Regions from separate parts of the Homo sapiens genome. Here all the other regions are linked to region 1. The links are contacts of gene promoters, found by promoter capture Hi-C in human tissues and cell types (Jung and others, 2019). All regions are on one chromosome and are shown on one strand. The core of a region is centred on a gene start or on the middle of the fragment in contact, and the rest is flanking DNA. Distances in the headings are between cores, read along the strand shown.

The links. Contacts are between HindIII fragments. The study calls those that stand out against the background at their distance.
Region 2: a contact is called between a fragment that was not itself captured here and the fragment with the promoter of IGDCC4 in region 1, in 1 of the 25 tissues and cell types used here (lymphoblastoid cells).
Region 3: a contact is called between a fragment that was not itself captured here and the fragment with the promoter of IGDCC4 in region 1, in 1 of the 25 tissues and cell types used here (lymphoblastoid cells).
Region 4: a contact is called between a fragment that was not itself captured here and the fragment with the promoter of IGDCC4 in region 1, in 2 of the 25 tissues and cell types used here (adrenal gland and thymus).

Annotation. Positions count from the first base shown.
Region 1 is chr15:65,421,621-65,427,053 of GRCh38, reverse strand. It overlaps IGDCC4 (immunoglobulin superfamily DCC subclass member 4), which reads left to right and starts at 4,107. Exons shown (of 20, transcript NM_020962.3): 1 at 4,107-4,261. The coding sequence starts at 4,192. RefSeq lists enhancers at 3,295-3,829, 4,805-5,074, 5,095-5,204. The HindIII fragment of the contact is 12,230 bases long and covers 1-5,433 here.
Region 2 is chr15:65,870,432-65,875,899 of GRCh38, reverse strand. All of the region lies in intron 1 of RAB11A (RAB11A, member RAS oncogene family), which reads right to left. Among named protein-coding and RNA genes, the nearest start is that of RAB11A, 3.7 kb to the right of the region's middle. The HindIII fragment of the contact is 7,068 bases long and covers 1-5,285 here.
Region 3 is chr15:65,854,938-65,860,597 of GRCh38, reverse strand. It overlaps LOC105370866 (a long non-coding RNA gene), which reads right to left. Exons shown (of 3, transcript XR_932372.2): 3 at 115-979. Among named protein-coding and RNA genes, the nearest start is that of TRQ-CTG1-4, 11 kb to the left of the region's middle. RefSeq lists enhancers at 2,371-2,450, 2,511-2,600 and a silencer at 3,482-3,571. The HindIII fragment of the contact is 3,245 bases long and covers 1,418-4,662 here.
Region 4 is chr15:64,967,489-64,973,492 of GRCh38, reverse strand. It overlaps SPG21 (SPG21 abhydrolase domain containing, maspardin), which reads left to right. Exons shown (of 9, transcript NM_016630.7): 6 at 3,271-3,379; 7 at 4,131-4,238. Among named protein-coding and RNA genes, the nearest start is that of SPG21, 19 kb to the left of the region's middle. The HindIII fragment of the contact is 8,694 bases long and covers 1-5,881 here.

The sequences.
Region 1 (5,433 bases), core at 2,858-5,357:
ACGGGGTTTCATCATATTGGTCAGGCTGGTGTCGAACTCCTGACCTCAGGTGATCCGCTCGCCTCAGCCTTCCAAAGTGCTGGGATTACAGGCATGTGCCAGCCACCATGCCCAGCCTGATTGATTTTTAAAAACACATTAAAACAGGTGCTATATCCACTTTTAATGTTGTGAACTCTTTGGAACTGGTTAGAAATGTGCATCATACCCCAACCCTTTTGTCTCAGTGATGAAACTGAGGCCCAGAGAGAGGATGGAAGTTGCCCAAGGTCATGCAGCAAGTCTGTAACCAAGGCAGGACAAGAACTATGGTTCTTACTCCTGCTGGGCTTGGCTGGCCTGAACCTGTAACTCTATCCCTCCTCCTCTCACATTTACTCCCTACCCAGAGCCCATGTAGTGAGATATGAATATAGATAAATTAATTAGATTTTTGTATGTGGCTGGTAGAATTAGTCTCTCTATATGGCAACACCTTGTTCATTCATTCAATTGACAAATCAATTGCTTTCTAGATAACATATGAGGCCAGTCCATCTGGCCCTGGCCTCCCTGTTTGGCTTCATGTCCTGCCCCTGCTCCCCTGCCCAGTCCACACCTCCTGCACTCTGCTTACATTGTCTTTCCTGTAAGACTTCTCTGCTTCCCCCAGGTCTGGCCCGAGTGCCCCTCTTCCCTGTACCCCATCACAGACTGTATCACACTTGTCCATCTCCCTCAGTAGCCTAAGCACCATTCAGGCAAGATTCCTCTTGTTCGCCAGTCTGCTCCCAGTGCCCAGAGCAGGGCCTGACCCATAACAGGTACCCCTTGAATCAATGATTGGATATGCCATTTCCAGGCAGGAAGAGCACACTTCCCTGTGCTCTCACAGCCCAGGGCCTCTGCAGAGGGAGTTTCTTGACCACCCTGTCAGTTCTAGCCTTTTAAATTGTCCAGACCCATGTCAAACATCCACAGGTCTGGCCCGAGTGCTCCTCCTCCCTGTACCCCATCACAGACCGTATCACACTTGTCCAATCAATAGTTCTGTGAAGCCTTCCTTCTCAACCTCCATGTCCCCCCACCCCACACACGGTAAATCCCTCCTCCTTTTGTTCCATCCTCCCTGCCACCCCATGCCACTTAGGACACTACTATCCTTGTGGGCAGGGACTTGTATTTTTTATCCAGGTCCCCTGGCACCTACACAGTGTGAGATACTGATTTAGGTGCTTAGCATTCAGCAGTGAACCTAGCAAACAAAAATCCCTGTCCTCATGAAGCACACATTGTGATTGTGAGGGGTGGGGGAACAGATCGAAAATAAGTAAAATGTAGAGCATATTAGTAAGTTACAAGTGTTGGCCGGGCGCAGTGGCTCATGCCTGTAATCCCAGCACTTTGGAAGGCCGAGGCAGGTGGATCACCTGAGGTCAGGAGTTCAAGACTAGCTTGGCCAACATGGTGAAACCCCGTCTCTACTAAAAATACAAAAAATTAGTCGGGCATGGTGGCAGGCACCTGTAGTCACAGCTACTCGGGAGGCTGAGGCAGGAGAATCTCTTGAAACCAGGAGGCGGAGGTTGCACTGCGCTGAGATCGTGTCACTGCACTCCAGCCTGGGCGACAGAGCAAGACTCTATCTCAAAAAAAAAAAGAAAGAAAAAAAGAAAGTGACAAGTGTTGGCCAGGCGTGCTGGCTCACGCCTGTAATCCCAACACTTTGGGATCCAAGGCAGGTGGATCACTTGAGGTCAGGAGTTCGAGACCAGCCTGACCAAATGATGAAACCCCGTCTCTATTAAAAGTACAAAAAGTTAGCTGGGCATGTAGTCCTAGCTACTTGAGAGGCTGAGACCCAAGAATCACTTGAACCCAGGAGGCGGAGGTTGCAGTGAGCCACTGCCCTCCAGCCTGGGGGACAGAGTAAGACTCTGTCTCAAAAAAAAAAAAAAAAGAAGAGAAAAAGAAAGAAAATAAAATAAAAAAGAAAGTGACAGTTAAAGACAAGAATAGACAGCAGGGAAGGAGGATAGGAAGAGTAGGGGGTGAGGCTGTGAGAAAGCCTTTATGGTATCCAGTATGAGGGAACAGATCTCTAGACTTGCACTGGCCGGACAAAGGTCTTGAGGCTGGAGGGGAGGAGGCTGCCCGCGATCAAGTTACAGCAAGGAGGATGGTGTGGCTGGAGAGGTGGTGAGCACAGGGGGTGGTGTCGAAGGGGAGGTCAGAGAGGTAGAGCAAGCCTACAGATCAGATAGGCCTTGTGGGTCACAATAAGGACTTTGGCTTTTGCTCTGACATAGGAGCCGCTGGTGGGTTTCTAGCAGAGAAGTGGCATGATCTCATTTTAACAGGAGCACTCTGGCTGCTGTATTGAGAAAACACTCAAGGAGGACAAGGACAGAAAAAGATCAGTGAGGAGTTTGCTGTGACAATCCAGGTGAGAGGCGACGGGTCTTGGACCAAGGCCACAGTGAGAAAGTGGAGGGTGAAGCATCTGAACATGAAGAGTAGGAGATGACTCTACATTTTTTTTTAATAGAAATGGGGGTCTCGCTATGCTGGCCAGGTTGGTCTTGAACTCCTGGCCTCAAGCGATCCTCCCACCTCGGCCTCCCAAAGTGCTGGGATTACAGGCGTAAGCCACCAAGCCTGGCCTCTACATTTTTGACCTGGGCAACAGGAAAGGAACTGAGATGAGGAAGACTGTGGGAGGAGAAAGATTGATAGAAAAGATCAGGATGAGTTTGTCTACTAGACAGCTAAAGGAACTGGGGCCTGGATGGCTGGATACAGAAGTCCAGGGTTCAGGAAAGATGGTCTAGGCTGAAAGTATACATTTGGGCATCATTAGCATAAAGATGCTCTTTAAAGCCTTGAGGACCAGATGAGATCACTAAGGGAAGCAAGTGTTTCAAGGAAGAGGGAGTGATTCACTAAGTCAAATGCTGCTGATAGGGCAAGTGAAGATGGGGCGTGGCAATGAATGAATAAACGCCAGGCCTGTTAGATATGCAAAGCGCCAGTGATTATTGAGGGTTAACTGACAACAGACAGGTGTAGAGACAAGATGGCTCTAAGTCACAGGAACACTTAGAGACACAGGGAAGGGAAGAACTATGGCATCTTGGAGTTGGAAAGGACCTTAACTAGGTCATTGAATCTGTACTCTTTTCCCCACCCTAGCCTGACAATTGAACCCTTGGCTGTAGAACAAGAAATATTTGCGGGATACTGAGGCAAACAGTCTGGCTAGGTAGGTTAGAGAAAGTACCGTTGAAGAATGAGAAAAAGGGTACTTCAGTAAATGCTGGACAGCAGAGGCAGGGTGAGGGAGTGGAGATGACCTTCCGAAGTCAGAAAACCAAGGTTCAGGTCCTGTATCTGCTGCTCCCTAGCCTCCTGTCCTTGGGCAAGTCACTTCACCTTCTCCAGCCTCAGTTTCCCCATGCGGCGACATCTGAATATGGTAGTGCTTGAAGGTAGTGTAAAAGTGTCCTGCCTGTGTTAGTTACTGCCAGAGCAAGGGAAGGAGGCCAAGAGAAGCCCTTGGTTTGGGATGGCAGATAGGACTATCAAGATCTCCGCAGGTGGGCTGGCGCAACGTGTGGAGAAGCGAACCAGCATTCAGGCCAGGACCTGGGCTGGAATGGACTGGGCTCGGGTGGCAAGGGGGCCATCTGGACAAAGACCGTGGCCCTGAATCTGCCTCCCCTGAGCCTGGAACGGAGGTGGAGACCCCGAGGCAGCAACAGGGAGAAGAAATAGAGACGCTGAGGCAGAGAGACCAGAAGACTCAGAGACGGGGAGACTAAGAGACAGACCCAGCAACAGGCGGCCTCACGGGGGCCCGCGGCGACCCGGAGAGGGCGAGGCACCGGGACACAGACCCGGGCCGAGAGGAGCCCCCGCGAGGCGCAGGGCCGTGGCGCGCGGGCGCAGGGTCCCCGGCGGGGCCAGGGTGGCCACACTCGCCGGGCGCCCCCTCCCGGGCCGCTCGCCCAAGATGGCGATGGAGGGGCGGGTGAGGCGGCAGCGGCCCTGGCCCCCGCGCCGGCCCCAGCTCGGGCCCGGGCCCCCGAGGCCGCGCCCCCGCCCGCGGCGCCGCGCCTCCCCGGGCCACTGACGCCCGGCGCGCTCTCCCCCCGCGGCGGCGGCCGAAGCACGGGGAGGCGGCGGCGGCGGCGGCGGCCCGAGCCCAGCCCCATGGCGCGGGGGGACGCCGGCCGCGGCCGCGGGCTCCTCGCGTTGACCTTCTGCCTGTTGGCCGCGCGCGGTAAGGGCGGGCGCCCGGAGAGGCAGGAGCGACTGCGGAGTGCTGGTGCGCCCGCGCCCTGGTCTGCATCGGGCTGCGGGGCTGGCTCAAGCCGGAGTCCCGAGCAAGTGCGGGGGCTGCGCGTCCAGGTGCCCGCGATGCCTGCGCGGGGGTCTGCGAGCTGCGGCCGGGGGGCGTTTGTGGGGCGTGCTTGTCCGCAGTGGGTGTGTGCCTTTGGTTCGCAGAGTCTGGAGTCGTGTGTGTGTGTGTGTGTGTGTGTGTGTGTGTGTGTGTTGGGAGTGCTCCTGTCGTGTCCGCAGTGCGTGCCATGGTCGCGGCGTGGCATCGGCGGGGCGGGTAGCTGCGGTGTCGGTGGCTTTCGCGGGGCGGGCTCTGCCTTGCCTGCGCGTGTCTTGGGTTGAGAGTGTGTGTAAAAGAGGAGGGAACTGGGGTTGTGTCTGCACCTCCATTTGGGTCGGGTGCGTGTGCAATTGTGTTTATGGGGCTGAGCTAATATTTGGCCTTGGCATTTGGGAAGTGTCCTTGCCCATAGTGGGGGACAGAGCGATGGATCCCGTTTGACTGGGGGTGGTGGTGATAAAACAACACTCAACTTTGCCCAGTGGGTGTGGTCCCTGGGGCCGGTTAGAGAGGGGTAGAGGGAGGTGTTGCTCCCCAAAACCTGTGGCCAGCAGTGGACTGGGGGAGGGGGCAGGAAACCATTTGCTTTCGTGGACATGTCCAGCGCTTGTTCTCACGATGGGACGCGTGTCACCCCGGCCCCACCCCCCAGGGACCGACCAGGGAAGCGTGGACGAGGTCAGCAGGGCCTCATCCAGTCCGCAGCCCAGTGCGGAGTGGGTACGGGGTAAGTCAGAGTTGTCCAAGCTGGAGAAAGGGCTGGGGAGGGGATAGCGAAGTCCCCAAGGGTGTGTGTCTAGGGCTGCGGCTTCCACCCACAGCTCTGTCGCTTCCTGTCCGGTGTGCGTTTGGGGGCGGCTCATGGGGAGTGTAGGTGGCAGGGCTGGGAGGGGGATGGGCTGGCCGCTTTGTTCGCCTAGTTCTTGCCTTCCCCGCGGAGGGGGGAGCTGAGGATGTGTCCGGGGAGAGTCGGGGAGGGACTTGGAGGTGGGGGTGGGGAGGGGGATTTCTCTCCAGCTGCTGCGGCTTTCCAGAGAGACTCAGCCAGGCCA
Region 2 (5,468 bases), core at 502-3,001, 450 kb before region 1:
AAAATCAAACATACAAAAATAAGGCCAAGGAGTAAGACCATTCCTTACTAAAGAGACTGGGATGGTGGTACGAGTGGAAAGAATGGTAAAAACTGAGAGCTCACTGCATTCTGGTCAGAGGGCAAAGAGAGTCCATTATACATTCCCTCCTTGCCACAGGAGTGGATATAAGCTAGCCTCTGGACAGTCTTGGACAGAGTACATTATCAAATGCATATCTTTCTGGCTTTCTCAGTCAGCTGATTCAGCAAGAAATCATTCAGGAGGCAGTGAATCCAATGCAGCACAAAGAATGGTTATTTCTAACTAGAGAGTCAACTAGAGGGTGTCAAAGATGCTGTGGCAAACACATACATGCTTTTATTTGATATCAGAAGAAAATGTCAAAGTTATTAAAGTGATGTACAAAAGCAATGCACTTTCAATTTTATAGGATGGTTAGTTGATATACTAGTTTCCAAGGTCCACCATTCTGGATATGAAGTCAAATCTCAGTTTCAGTTAATAGTCTATTATTAATAGGATACATTCACTGTTGCCTCTTAGTACAAAAGGCTGGATGTTTGCTAAGGAAATGGCCTTTGAATCACTTATACAAAAAAAAAAATTTAAATACAAAAAAATACACAAAAAATACATGAATAAATACAAACAAAAAAATTAGACAGGCACGGTGGTGCATGCCTGTAGTCCCAACTACTCAGGAGGCTGAGGTGGGCAAATGGCTTGAGCCTGGGAGGCAGAGGTTGTGGTGAGCCTGGACTGTGCACCACTGTACTCTAGCCGGGGGAGTAGAGCCAGAACTTGTCTCAAAAAAAAAACTTCCAGCACTTTCTTTCTTTCTTTCTTTTTTTGAGACAGGGTCTCACTGTCGCCCAGGCTGGAGTGCCACGGCACAAGCAGAGCCCACTGCAGCCTAGACCTCCCAGGCTCAGAGGATCCTCCCACCTCAGCCTCCCTAGTAGCTGGAACTACAGGCACATGCCAACACGCTCAGCTAATTTTTTGTATTTTCTGTAGAGATGGGGTTTTGCCATGTTGCCCAGGCTGGGTCTCAAACTCCAGGGCTCAAAAGATCCACTCGCTTTGGCCTCCCAAAGTACTGGGATTACAGGTATGAGCCACCATGCCCGGCCAACTCCAGCACTTTCAAGTTTTGGTTTCCTCCCTTTTGACCTCCACTTTTAACTAATGATTATGTTCATTATCTCACCAATCTCAACTCCTTATACCATCATAAAGATAGCAAGGGAACTTTTCTCTTAATGTAACCAATTAATGTTAACACTACAAAAAAAAAGCACTCTAATCTGAAAATAACTCAAAATTCATGAATGTTTTAAAAAGTTATCTCAACTAGGCCGGGCGTGGTGGCTCACACCTGTAATCCCAGCACTTTGGAAGGCCAAGGAGGGTGGATCACCTGAGGTCGGGAGTTTGAGACCAGCCTGACCAACATGGAGAAACCTCATCTCTACTAAAAACACAAAATTAGCCAGGTGTGGTGGCGCATGCCCGTAGTCCCAGCTACTCAGGAGGCCGAAGCAGGAGAATTGCTTGAAGCGGGAGGCGGAGGTTGCAGTAAGCTGAAATCGCAGTAAGCTGAAATCGCGCCATTGCACTCCAGCCTGGGCAACAAGAGTGAAACTCCATCTCAAAAAAAAAAAAAAAAGTTATCAACTAGACATCTGCTGTATTTGAGTATCATCGCAAATACCTAATACTGAATATCAAGCTGCTAAATGCATAAAAGCAGAATATACATATTAATTATCCATTGAAAATTTCTGCCTCTTCAACCACATTTAGTTTTATACTTTCTCTTGCAAACTAATTTACTGGACTAAAATATAATTCATCAAAGACAGTACCTCAACCCTAAAAGTTACCACGTGAGAGAATAACTGGTAATTTTCATTCTAGTTTTCATAAATTTGGAGACATTTCTATTCTTTCAACTATATTCATAGTCCAACCTCCTCAAAAGTTTTTAATATACAATGCGTTCAAGGCAGGACACAGTGGCTCATGCCTGTAATCTCAGCACTCTGAGAGGCCAAGGTGGGAGGATCCCTTGAGCCCAGGAGTTTGAGACCAGCCTGGGCAACGTAGGGAGACCCTATCTCTACAAAAAAGAAAATTTTATTTCTGTAAGTGGGATAGTCTTAAAAAAAAAAAAATAGCCAGGCATGGTGGAGCACATTTGTAGTTGCAGCTACTTGGGAGGCTGAGGCAGGAGGATTTCTTGAGCACAGGAATTTGAGGCTGCAGTGGGCTATGACTGTGCCATGGCACTCCAGACTGGGCAACAGAGGGAGACCCTGCCTCAAAAAATATATATATATAGATATAGATATAGATATAATGCATACAATAAGGCTCAAGTCTAGACAAGTTTTTCCAGATTCAGCAGAATCTGAGTTGCTCAACCAAAACTTGTGAAAGAAAAACTACTACCAAGATGCAAGACAGCAAAGTTCCTATGATAATTTCTACTGACAATCAGCTGATGGTTAATTACTACTGACCTCCAATGTGATTGAAAAGAAAATGTCTTAAGCAATAGACTATGTATCCAGATATTTTCAGAAAATCTAACTGTGGATTGGTGTCTACCACACAATATTTGTAAACAGAAATCATGATTGATGCTTACTTATGTCCCACAGGGCCTTAACCACATTGTTCGTAAATACTTAAGGAATTAAAGTTTTAAAAATAAAAAGTCAACTTTAAATAAAATAAAACTAATTCCCTCCCACCAAAAGTCTCACTATTGGGCTTAAATAAAGGTTACTGTTCAAGAACAAACACATAATTTAGAATAATTGTCCTGCTCGCCCCACATTACATTCCTATTTAGACCACTCCATCCCCTATTAATCAAAATATCCCTTTATTTTGAACTGGTTAGTTACAAACTAACTCCAATTCCCTCAACTATTGCATTTGCTAGGTAAACCTTCTAAGTAGAAACAGCTGCAGTCCATCTCAGTGAATAAATCTCTGTACAATAAAGCCATTTTGAAATAAAATCATTCTTGCTTCACTTTAAAGTAGGATACTTGTATAAATAAGAAATTGGCTAAATAATCAGCATTGAAGTTAAAAAAGAAAAAGAAAAAGTGACTCATATCCTGTAAGAGCTTTAAAAAAGTAGAAATCTGGCCAGGCACGGTGGCTCACACCAGTAATCCCAGCACTTTGGGAGGCCCAGGCGGGCGGATCACCTGAGGTCAGGAGTTCGAGACCAGCCTGACCAACATGGAGAAACCCCGTCTCTACTAGAAATACAAAATTAGCCGGGTGTGGTGGTCCATGCCTGTAATCCCAGCTACTCGGGAGACTGAGGCAGGAAAATCGCTTGAACCCAGGAAGCAGAGGTTGCAATGAGCCGAGATCGCGTCATTGCACTCCAACCTGGGAAACAAGAGCGAAATACCATCTCAAAAAAAAAAAAAAAAAGTAGAAATCCTCCTTAGCAGAATTTTTAACACCCTATCTTAAACAGCAAAATGCACAACAAAATGAAACCATAACCCATGGAAACATAAAATGCATTCGAAGTTCCTAGTTTTATTTTCTTTAATAATATTTAAATGCTCTTGTAGTTGAACCTACATTTAAGGTTCAAAAAACTGACAAAGGCCAGGCACAGTGGCTCACGCCTATAATCCCAGCACTTGGGGAGGCTGAGGAAGGTGGATTGCTTAAGTCCAGGAGTGCGAGACCAGCCTGGGCAACATGGCAAAACCCTGTCTTTACAAAAAAACAAAAAACTAGCCGGGCGTGGTGGCGCGCTCCTGTAGTCTCAGCTACTCCTAGGAGCTAGAGAGTAGCTAGGGAGGCTGAGGTCGGGGGGTCACCTGAGCCTGAGGAGGCCGAGACTGCAGTGAGCCTTGATTGTGCCACTGCACTCCAGCCTGGGGGACAGAGCGAGACCCTGTCTCCAAAAAAAAAAAAAAAAAAAAAAAAAAAAACTGACAAAACCACAGTAACTTCTTTCACATTATTACCATTTATTGAGTCCTCATGGTTAAAATTTTACGAACAGTCTCATTATTTAATTCTCACAATCTTAAGAGGCAGGTATTTTCCTTTTTATAAAGTAGAGAACTGAGACTCAGAAAAGTTAACTTTTCCAAGGTCATAAAGTAAATATAAGACCTGAGTCAGGATCTAAACCGAGGTCTACGTGATTCCAAAGCTCAGTGCTCTCAATTGTTGCTAGAAGGATGGTCTAATCAAAAAGTTAAAATACTTTAGGCCAATTCAGAATATTTAATATTCTTTGTTAAAAAATAAAAGGACCTTGTATAACCAACATTCAAGTTCAAACCAAACAGGAGAAATACCCTGACGGTCTATCTTGTTCTGAATTAATTACTTCAAAGACAACCTTTATAAAAGCACACTACCATTATACCATATTTCAAAACACAAACCTAACCTTTAACCCCAAAGTCTCAAGAGATTCAAATAGTTTCACATCATCTCAGATACCTTCGGCAAAAGGTATGCTGTCATATACTTTTTGTAATCCAGGCCTCAGTTTTGTATTTGTAAAATGAACTAAGTACCCTGAAAGTACTTTCCAGTATGGAGGGGGAGGGTGGATACCAAAAGTATTCACCCTATACAGTAGAATATTCTGAGTCAGAGGAGTAAGAGATGATAAGAGTATAACAGCAGACTAGTTAGTATAACAAGATTTGCAAAGTATTGGGAAAGCAAAGAAATCTTTCCTGCTTGGTTTAGTCAATCATTCTTAGCACCCAATGGCAAAGACAGAAACAGTCACCATGCTTAACACTCTTGAAACTCCACCCTCCACAGTAAAGCTTTAATAGCAATGGCTTCTTCCTCAGTGGTAATGATCTTTGTTCGGCACACTACTGATGGCTACCTTCCCAATTCAGGAGCAGAGAAAGAGCATCAGAGTGAGAGTGCATTCACTGAACAAAAAAAGCATCTACTGTACTCTCTTCTCATTGAAAAATGTACCCTTTATCTTCGTTGATTAAAAAAAAAAACCGGATTCCTTCCGGACTCAACCAATAAGCAATTCTTTCTAACCAACCCTGACCCTCCAATATGTTCTGTCCAAGGGCACTACATGTTTCCGTATCTTATAATAAATATTTAATGTAACCAAAAGAGCACACAACTTCCTCCCACCCCCAACCTTTTGGGAAAGGTATGTGGCTAACTAGGGCTCTTCCCTTCCTGTTGGATCCTCCCAGCGTTGCAGCAGGAAGCAACCAGTTCATAGAGATAAAGCAAGCTAGTATTTGTGCAGCGCACAACCTTTCCTGCTCAGGAACCAGGCCTTCAGGTCTGGCAAGGATAACAGCCACCACCCATCCGCAACCTCATCTCGCGAACCGAGTAAAGAGTTATCCCGGGTTGGGTGCCACTGAGTAGGGAGGGCAAGAAAAGAAAAGGCTAGGTGGGAAGTAATGTCAGCC
Region 3 (5,660 bases), core at 1,791-4,290, 430 kb before region 1:
ACCTCCAACTGCATGATTCCTATTATTCAGAGCCATCATTGAAATATCTATGTAAGTCCACACATGCCTGAAAACAAAAGGTTATAAAAATAAAATGTTAGCAGTGGTTATTTCTGCAGAATAGGATTACAGGTGATTTTTATTATTTTGTTTATCTGTTTTCTATATTTTATAGGAGATTTTAAAATAAAAAAAGCTTTACTGGTCTTGCTTGTTACAAAAGGAATGAACAGTCATTGTAAAATAGTCAAATAACACAAACAATATAGAAGTACAGTAAACTTGGAAAGTGAAGTTTGTTTCCTCCTGGCTGCCAACATTGTGGTTTCCTCCCCAGCACCACCCCACCCCTTCCATCCAGAAAACAGCCAGGCAGTTTGGGTGGGATTATCCCTACCCACAGCTCCAGGAGTGGCTTCTGGAATTATCTAACCCTGAGGTTCTCAATCCTAACATCCAAACCCTGATATTGTAACAAACGTTTCATAACACTGTCTTTACCATCCTGACATCAATAGATCTTATCTTATGATATACCTTCCTGCACACATAATTTTAAGTTGGGAGTCAAGCTTGCTGATATTTTAGTGTTTTCTTTATTTTATATATGTGTATGTGTGTCTTTGTATGCCCATGCAGGCATGTACATATCATACATCCTATTTTAGTTGTTGAGTACATATTACACTTAGAAAAAGTTACATAGGAAAACACCAGAGTTGAAGAAAGATGTCAACCATCATTTTAGAGAACCTTTTGAGTGCTGCATAGGTGAGTGCACACACTTTAAAAATCAATATAATGCTATAAGTATAAAGGATAAATAAGAAAATAATGCATTATAAAAAGATATGTGTTTCAATAAGTAAATGCTTGATGGCGGGCGTGGTGGCTCACACCTGTAATCCCAGCACTTTGGGAGGCTGAGGCAGGAGGATCAGTTGAGCCCAGCCTGGGCTATGGTAGTAAGACCTCGTCTCTACAAAAAAAAAAAAAAAAAAAAAAGTAAATGCTTGAGCACAAGTGTAATAGAAGACATAATGAAGTAATTAGATACTTGCACCTAACAGAATCACCATTTATGTAACAATGTTTATTGAGTACCTACTATGTGCTGGGCACTGTTTACTAGGGATACAGACAGAAATCCTTGCCTTAGACTGGGCACAGTGGCTCATGCCTGTAATCTCAGCACTTTGAGAGGCCAAGGTGGGTGGATCGCTTGAGCTCAGGAGTTCGAGACCAGCCTGGGCAACATGGCGAGACTCTGGCCCTGCTAAAAATACAAAAAAATAGCCGGGCATCGTGGTGCATCCCTGTGGCCCCAGCTACTCGGGTGGCTGAGGTAGGAGGATCGCTTGAGCCTTGGGGGCAAAGGTTGCAATGAGCAAGTTCACACCACTGCACTCCAGCTGCGCCACAGAGTGAGACCATGTCAAAAAAAAAAACAAAAAAAGAAAGCGGGGGGGAGGGTTAGAGAGAGAAAGAAAGAAAGAGAAAGAAAGAGAAAGAGGGAGAGAAGAGAGAGAAAGAGGGAGAGAAGAGAGAGAGAAAAGAAGGAAGGAAGGAAGGAAGGAAGGAAATTAAGGAAGGAAGAAAAGAAAGAAAAAGAAATCCTTGCCTCATGGAGCAAACATTCTAGCAGGGTGGTGTGGTTATAGACCACAATCAACATAATACATAAGTAAGTTATGTATTACATTAGAAGATGACAACTGTTCTGATCTTTTTTTTTTTTTTTTTTTGAGGTGGAGTCTTGCTCTGTCACCCAGGCTGGAGTACAGTGTACAATGGTGCTATCTCGGCTCACTGGAACCTCCACCTCCCCAGTTCAAGTGATTCTCCCGCCTCAGCCTCCCGTGTAGCTGGGATTACAGGTGCGTGCCACCATGCCCGGCTAATTTTTGTGTTTTTGTAGAGATGGGGTTTCACCTTGTTGGCCAGGCTGGTCTTGAACTCCTGACCTCAGGTGATCCGCCCACCTCAGCCTCCCAAAGTGCTGGGATTACAGGCCTGAGCCACCACGCCCGGCCCTGTTATGACTTTTTTAAAGTAGAACAGGGTAAAAGGAAATAAGAGTTCAGAGCAGTAGAGAGGTGGGTAGTGACTTGCAGTTCAAAATAGAGTAGTCAAGGCAGCCTCACTAGAAGGTACATTTGAGCAAAGATTTAAAGGAGGTGAGGGAATGAATCACACCGATTATCTAGGGGAAAAATACGCAGGCAGGTGGAATAGCTAATGTGAAGACCCTAAGGCAGAAGCTTGTCTAGCAAGTGCGTGGTCTGTAAACGGACCAGGGAGGTGGATTAGAGCAGGTACTATAAATAAAAGCAGAAGTAGGAGATGGGTCAGAGAAGTAAAGAAGCCAGATCTTGAAGGGCCTCATGGGCCACTGTAAGGCTTGTACTCTGAGTAAACTGGTGAAACATGAGAAGGTTTTGAGCAGAGGAGTGACATGATCTGACCTACATTTTAAAAGGAAAAATCTGGCTGCTCTGTTGAAAACATTGTAGGAGGAGAAGGATGGAAGCAGGGAGACCAGTTGGGAGGTTGTTATAAGAATCCAAGCAAGAAATCAATGCAACAGCTTCAAATGCAGACTAATATTCACTAGTGTATTTTGTAGACGTCATTGATTGTAGGATACATCCTGATTTCAGAGATGTTAAAATATGCAGTGTGAATTGCATTATGCAGTGTGAATTGCAATATGCAGGGCTAAATCAGTGACTCAAATACCACAAGTGTTGGTTGTTGAAGACATGATTTTCTGAAACAGTGAACAACTTTTGGTAAAGTTCCAAATGTAGCTAAATACTATTTTCTGTCAATTTACTCATTAGCCTCATATCTGGATATTCTGTTTATATTAAAACCATGCAAAAATAGTTTATATTTATATATAAAATGGAATGAGAGGCTAGGCTCAAATTATTACACACAAGTTTTTAAAAATCTACATTAATGTCGAGCAGGGCATTAAAAGTTGTGCGGAATGTGGGAAAATTCTGTAATGTATTTACCCATACATTATCAGAAATCTAATGCCCCTGGCCCACATTCTGTAAATGACCAATTATTGTGACAGCCAAAATTTCTCCCCAAGGCTAGGTGCAGTGCTCACGCCTACAATTCCAGCACTTTGGGAGGCCGAGGCGGGCGGATCACTGGAGGTCAGGAGTTCGAGACTAGCCTGGCCAACATGGTGAAACCCCGTCTCCACTAAAAATACAAAAACTAGCTAGGCATGGTGTTGCGTGCCTGTCATCCCAGCTACTCGGGGGACGAGGCAGAGGTTGCATTGAGCCAAGATGGCGCCACTGCACTCCAGCATGGGTGACAAGAGTGAAACTCTGTCTCAAAAAAAAAAAAAAAAGTTTCTTCCCAAATTTCCAAAGAGAGCCCTAGAATGTGATGCCAGCAGAGTGCATGATCCAGAAACATACTATTATGGTCCAACCAGAGAGAAGCCTGGGTGGGCTGCATGATGGGTGAAGGGAGACACCCAGCACCTTAGTGACACCTGTAGCCTCGCCTCAATGTGCTGCAACTCTCCCACCACCAGGGGGAGCTAGCCTTAGGATGAGGCTTTTATTATACCTTTTTAGGCAATGTAATTTTCTTTAAAAATGTGATAAAATACACATAAAACGTACCATCTCAACCATTTTTACGTTGTACAGTGTACATTCACATTGTTATGCAACAAATATACCCAGAACTATTTTCTTTCTTTCTTTTTTTTTTTTTTTGTTTGAGACTGAGTCTTGCTTTCTTGCCCAGGCTGGAGTGCAGTGGCACGATCTTGGCTCACTGCAAACTTCACCTCCCCGGTTCCAGCGATTCTCCTGCCTCAGCCCCCCGAGTAGCTGGGACTACAGGCACCCGCCACCACCCCCAGCTAATTTTTGTATTTTTAGTAGAGATGGGGTTTCACCATGTTGCCTAGACTGGTCTCGAACTACTGACCTCAAGTGATCCTCCTGCCTCAGCCTCCCAAAGTGCTGTGATTACAGGCATAAGCCACCTCGCTCGGCCCCAGAACTCTCTTCATCTTGCAAAACTGAAACTCTATACCCATTATGCAATGCCCTGGCAGCCACCATTCTACTTTCTGTCTCTATGAGTTTGATTACCCTAGGTATCTCATCTAAGGGGAATCATAGGGTATTTACACTTTTATGTCTAACTTATTTCACTCAATATAATGTCTTTAAGAGGCTTTTACCGCCAGGCATGGTGGCTCACTCCTGTAATCCCAGCAACTTTGGGAGGCCGAGGTGGATGGATCACCTGACGCAGGAGTTCGAGACCAGCCTGACCAACACGGAGAAACCCCATCTCTACTAAAAATACAAAATTAGCTGAGCGTGGTGGCACATGCCTGTAATCCCAGCTACTCAGGAGGCTGAGGCAGAATTGTTTGAACTCAGGAGGCGGAGGTTGCGGTGAGCCAAGATCGCACCATTGCACACCAGCCTGGGCAACAAGAGGGAAACTCCGTCTCAAAAAAAAAAAAAAAAAAAAAAAAAAAAAAAAAAGAGGCTTTTACCTTGAAGGCAAAGGGCAAGATGGAAAAAAAGCTGAACCACACGTTGAACACCTATGTCAACCCATCACCAAAGCCCACTCTGCCTTTAGGCATTTGACTACTTGGCCAATATATTCCCCTTATTATTTTAGTCCATTTGACTCTAATTTTCTATTGCTTGCAACTGAAAATACAAGTGATACCTTCCCCTTCTTTCCTCAAGTAGCATTAACATTTTGGCATATAGTCTTTCAGACTCTTCAACCTGCAGAATCTTTAATATACAATATATGAAGATGTGTATTTAATTCTTACATAAGTGAAATATACACTGTTGAGCAATCTCATTTTTTCTCTGAATCTTTCAATAGTAAGAAATACAGATCTAGTTTAAACTCTTATATACCTCTGTTATATGGATGAACCAAAGTTTATTTAACCAACCTATTATTGATAAACATTTAGGATCTTCTCAATGTTTTGATACTATAAAGATGTTGTAGTGAGCATCCTTCTAAACATTTCCTTTGAATACATTTCTAGAAGAAATGCCTTCCTGATGGTGGTACCAATTTTTATTCCTAGTAATGCTTGAGAGTTCCTGATTATCTTTTTTTTTTGGCGGGGGTGGGAGTGGAATGCAGTGGCTCGATCTTGGCTCACTGCAACCTCCTGTCTCAGCCTCCTGAGTAACTGGGATTACAGGTACGTGTCATCACGCCCAGCTAATTTTTGTATTGTTAGCAGAGACAAGGTTTCACCATGTTGGCCAGGCTGGTCTCTAACTCCTGACCTCCAGTGAGCCACCTGCCTCAGCCTCCCAAAGTGCTAGGATTATAGGTGTGAGCCATGGCACCCGGCCACTGATTCTCTATATTCTTTAAAATATGGAATATTATCCTGTCCATCAATTTCACCTTTGCTAATGTATAAAAATTACATCTTTTATTATAATTAGCAGTATTCTTTTGCAAGTGAAGTTGAGAAGTTTTAAATGTTTAATGGCCATTTCCTTTGTGTGTGTGTGAATTGCCTGTTCAATCCTTTGTTTGTCTATCAGGATATTTATTGTTTGCCTATTGAGTCATAAAAGCTCTTTATAGAACTAAGGATATTAAATCCTAGTCAA
Region 4 (6,004 bases), core at 285-2,784, 450 kb after region 1:
GCAACAGGAGCGAAACTCCATCTCAAAAAAAAAACAAACCAAAAACAAAATGGTGGAAATGCTTTGGGTGCAGCCAGTGGGGTACTTGTTTCCTAGGAGCCATCCTTTCATTGATTTTATCATTTTAAGTAATTGGTAGGTATCTATGATGCCATACAGCTGGCTTACTGTGCACTTCTTTCATTGCTGGCAAGGCGAGGCTCTAGCCTTAAAATAAAGCCCAGTGGCCAGGTGTGATGGCTCATGCCGTACTCCCAACACTTTGGGAGGCCAAGACAGGAGGATCACTTCAGGCCAAGAGTTTGAAACCAGCCTGAGCAACATAGTGAGACCCCATCTCTACAAATAACAATAATAATAAATTAGCCAGGTATCATGGTATGCACCTGCAGTCCTAGCTACTCAGGAGGCTGAGGCAGGAGGATCGCTTGAGCCCAAGAGTTCAAGGCTGCAGTGAGCCACAACTGTGCCTCTGTACTCCAGGCTGGGTGACAGAGCAAGACCCTACTTCAAAAAAAAAGCCCAGTGAGTAAACACATCTGTATGATCAGTGTTTTCAAATAATGTATAGGGAAATATCGTTTTCACATCTACTTAAAATTGCACTCTGATATTTTTTAGTTTTTTTTGTTGTTGTTTGTTTTTTTGTTTGTTTGTTTTTGAGATGGAGTCTCGCTCTGTCGCCCAGGCTGGAGTGCAGTGGCACGATCTCAGCTCACTGCAAGCTCTGCCTCCCAGGTTCACGCCATTCTCCTGCCTCAGCCTCCCGAATAGCTGGGACTACAGGCGCCCGCCACCATGCCTGGCTAATTTTTTATGTTTTTAGTAGAGACGGGGTTTCACCGTGTTCACCAGTATGGTCTCGATCTCCTGACCTCGTGATCCGCCCGCCTCAGCCTCCCAAAGTGCTGGGATTACAGGCATGAGCCACTGTGCCCAGCTATTTTTTAGTTTTTCTGATGTTATCTTAGTAATTACTCAGCATTCATGCAACAATTTCTTGTATACATTAGCTACTTTACAAATCCTTCCCGTCCAGATAATGCACTAAATAATGCTCATTATTTTTGGTGATTTTTATTGCTGTTCTAATTGTTAGAATGCCAAGACAGCCCCCATTCAGTTTGTGCTCTGGCACATCAGCTGCTTATTGTCAAATATCTGAGTGCTTACTGTGTGCCACACACTGAGGATCCAGGAGTGAGCAAAGTCAACAGGGTCCACCCCTTACAGAGCGTACTTAGACCTCATCACCTTCAAAAGATAAGAAAGTGATGGGGCTGGGAGAGAACTTAGAAAGTTAACTGGAAGGTGACCTAGTGGTCCTTTTGAGGGAAGCTCAACTTCCAGCAAGGCTGTCCCAGTGGTAATAAGCATCAGAAGGTAGTTTGCACCTCATCTAAGTAATTTTCGTCATAGGTTTACAGAAATTAGTGTTTGCCCTCCATGATGGCTCTTAACAGTTGAAATTAATGGAATAAATATAAACTAAAGATCATATATAGAAATCCGTAAAGATCTGACCAGTCACAGTGGCTCACACCTGTAATCCCAGCACTTTGGGAGGCAGAGGTAAGAGCATTGCTTGAGTCCAGGAGTTCTAGACCAGCCTGGGCAACAGAGCAAGATCCTGTCTCTACAGAAAAAAAATTTTCTTTTTTGAGATGGGAGTCTCGCTCTGTTGCCCAGGCTGGAGTGCAGTGGCACGTTCTCACTGCAGCCTCTGCCCCCCAGGTTCAAGTGATTCTCCTGCCTCAGCCTCCCAAGTAGCTGGGATTACAGGCGCTGGCCACCGCCCCTGGCTAATTTTTGTATTTTTAGTAGAGACGGGGTTTCACCATCTTGGCCAGGCTGGTCTTGAACTCCTGACCTTGTGATCACCCACCTTGGCCTCCCAAAGTTCTGGATTACAGGCATGAGCCATTGCGCCTGGCTCAGTAAATTTTTTTTTTTGGAGACGGAGTCTGGCTCTGTCGCCCAGGCTGGAGTGCCATGGCACGATCTTGGCTCACTGCAAGCTCCATCTCCTGGGTTCACGCCATTCTCCTGCCTCAGCCTCCCGAGTAGCTGGGACTACAGGCGCCCGCCACCAAGCCCGGCTAATTTTTAGTATTTTTAGTGGAGACGGGGTTTCACCGTGTTAGCCAGGATGGTCTCAATCTCCTGACCTCGTGATCTGCCCACCTTGGCCTCCCAAAGTGCTGGGATTACAGGCATGAGCCACCGTGCCTGGCCCCGGCTCCCCCAGCTCAGTAAATTTTTAAAAAATTAGTCAGGCCTGGTGGTACGAGCCCGTAGTCCCAGCTACTCGGGAGGCCAAGGTAGAAGGATCACTTGATAGGAGTTTGAGGCTACAGTGAGCTATGATCACAATACTGCACTTCAGCCTGGGCAACAGAGTGAGACCCTGTCTCTAAAAGTTTTTTTTTAAATTTTTTAATTAAAAAATAAAAAGAGGCCAGGAGTGGCTCACGCCTGTGATCCCAGCACTGTGGGAGGCTGAGGTGGGTGGATCACTTGAGGCCAGGAGTTCACCACCAGTCTGGCCAACATTGCAAAAGCTCATCTTTACTAAAAATACAGAAGTTAGCCGGGCGTGGTGGCATGTGCCTGTAGTCGCAGCTACTCGAAAGGCTGAGGCATGAGAATTGCTTGAGCCCGGGAGGCAGAGGTTGCACCCAGCCGAGATCATGCCACTGTACTTCCAGCATGGGTAACTGACTGAGACTCTGTCTCAAAAAATAATAACAATAATAAATTTAAAAAATAAATCTATAAATATCAATTTGCCTTGAATTAGCCAAGTTGAATCTAATAGTAGCAAATTTGGGGAGGTGCAATAGCTTTCATATTGGTATTTTGAAATCTGTTTTGAAATATCAATCGATAAAAACATAATATCAACCAGAAGGAAAGAATACTTCTCTTAATATTCAGTTTTCCAAAAGAAATAGTTTAATCCTTGGAAATAGGGCCAATTAGAGAAAAAAAACAATCTTGGACTCATCAGAATGTCTATCTCAGTAAAGGTATTTTGAAATATCTCTTATAATTATCCTAAATCCTCAAATAAAAGTTTAATTATATGAAGCCATAACTCTTTGGAAGCTTGGGAAAGTGTGTGTAAAAACTAGATGCTGAGCTCTTTGGAGGAGGGGATTAGGACTTTTTATTTCTAGATCCCAAGCTAATACAAAGCTTTAATGTTGAATGAATATTTGCCATGTGTAGTCTTGGAAGTTTAAATTATAAGGTCTTTGTGTTTTACAGCTTTTGGCTGATGCCTGCATTTATGCTCAAAAAAATAGTTCTTGGAAATTTTTCATCTGGCCCGGTGGACCCTATGATGGCTGATGCCATTGATTTCATGGTAGACAGGGTAAGGATCATGACATTGGGTTGGGGACACATTGTATTGGGAATTTTCACATCTACTTGGTTCCAGAAGATAGATCTGTCTCACAAGTATGTGTAAGAGGTATTTGCTAAGCAGAGTAATACATCTGAGCAGATATTATTGCTGGTAAGGGCTTGCCTACATCAGTGCTTCCCACCAGCTATTCATCAAAATCACTTAGGGGAGCTTTCAAAAATACAGATTGTAAGGCCTCACAGCAGATCATCCATCTGGAATCCCTGGGCATGGGATCTGGGAATCTATTTTTACTTCACACTTTTCCTCTACCCACCAGGTAAATCTGATGAACCAGGTCTGTTGGCTTGCATTTAGGAACTGCTGGGCTAGATGATTTCTCAAATCTCTTTTAAGATCCCTTAAAGGTTTATCTTAAAAAAAAAAAAAAAACAAAAACATATATCTGTCACCTTTGAGCAGTAGGAATTGGCTTGCTGCCCATGGGCACCTGGCTGGAGTAGGCAGTGTAGGCTGAGGGCTGTAGAAGGCCGGGTTTCATTGGTTTGTACCCAGGTTTCCAGAATAGAAAAATGCCACAACCTCCTGAGAAGCCCAGTTCATGGTCTCTCACCTAAGTTGTGGTTCCTCACTGATGACTTTTCTGGCCCCACCACAGATGATACCACCTTTATAAGCACAAATGTTGTCTGTGGATTTAATGTAAATGTGAAAAACAAAATTATTTCAAAAACTTTACCTGTGTTTCTTCCTGCAGCTAGAAAGTTTGGGTCAGAGTGAACTGGCTTCAAGACTTACCTTGAATTGTCAAAATTCTTATGTGGAACCTCATAAAATTCGGGACATACCTGTAACTATTATGGATGTAAGCTTCCTTTTAAGTAAAATAGCTGCTTTACTTTTTAAAATGTGTATGTCAAGATCTCCTATAAAACTATTTGATAACTTTCAATGTACCTCTTCAAATGCTGCCTTGGCTTTTGTTTTTACCCTCCAGCTTTCTCAATTCCAAAATAATCTGTTTATTGCTTATCTTGGATTTCTTTCTGGCAGGAATAACACCATTGAAATCAAAATAGGCCGAGCACAGTGGCTTATGCCTGTAATCCCAGCGCTTTGGGAGGCTGAGGCAGGAGGATTGCTTGAGTCCAAGAGTTCAGGACCAGCCTGGGCAACATAGTGAGACCCTGTCTGTATTTATTAAAAAAAAATAAAAATAAAAATGAATCAAAATAAATTTAAACAAGGGAGTCTACCCATTTGATGTATTTTTGCTGTTCTCATCAATAGATATTGCACCATATATTGCACATATATGGGCAGCAAAGAGAAGGTGCTTCACAAGGGTAACAAGGGTAGAGAATCAAGAATTCCATAGTTTAATTACCACAAAAGCTTGCTTATTTTTTTATTGTGGTAAAATGTACATTTAAAATATGCCATTTTAACCATTTTTAAGTGCATAGTTCAGTGGCATTAAGTATATTCACAGTTCGGCAACCATCACCATTTTCACAACATTTTCATCATTCCAAGAAGAAATTGCATACCCATTAAACAATAACTCCTGTTCCCTTTCTTCCCCCGGCCTCTGATAATCAACGGTTTTATTTTCTGTCTATAAAAATTTACCTATTCTAGAACCTCATATAAGTAGAATCATACAACATTTATCCTTTTGTGTGGCCATTTCACTTAGCATAATGTTTCACAAGACTTATCTTGAAATGTTATACATGTGTCAGAATGTCATTTCTTTCTTTTTTTTTTTTTTTTTTTGGAAACAGGGTCTCACTCTGTTCCCCAGGCTGGAGTGCAGTGGTGCAATCTCAGCTCACTGCAACCTCTGCCTCCCGGGCCCAAACAATCCTCCCTCCTCAGCCTCCTTAGTAGCTTGGACCACAGGCTCACACCACTACGTTCGGCTAATTTTTTGTAGAGATGGGGTTTCACCATGTTGCCCATGCTGGACTCAAACTCTGGGACTCAAGCTGTCTGCCTGCCTGGGCCTCCCAAAGTGCTATGACAGGCATGAGCCACCACGCCCAGCCTATTTCTTTTTAAAGCTGAATAATATCTACCAATAAAACCAATGTTGGTTTATACCACATTTTGTTTATCCATTCATCCGTCAGTGGTCACTTGGGTTGTGTTCAGCTTTTGGCAATTGTGAATAGTGCTTCTATGAACATTGGTGTAAAAGTATATGTTTGGGCAGGGCACAGTGGCTCATTCCTGCAATCCCAGCACTTTGGGAGGCTGACTCAAGAGGATTGCTTGAGCCCAGGAATTCGAGACCAGTCTGGGCAATACAGGAGACCCTGTCTCTACTACTAATAAAGAAAATTAGGCCGGGCGCGGTGGCTCACCCCTGTAATCCCAGAACTTTGGGAGGCCAAGGCGGGTGGATCATGAGGTCAAGAGATCGAGACCATCCTGGCCAACGTGGTGAAACCCGTCTCTACTGAAAATACAAAAATTAGCCGGGCATGGTGGCACACACCTGTAGTCCCAGCTATTCGGGAGGCTGAGGCAGGAGAATTGCTTGAATCTGGGCGGTGGAGGTTGCAGTGAGCTGAGATCGCACCACTGCATTCCAGCCTGCCAATAGAGTGAGACTTCGTCTCAAAA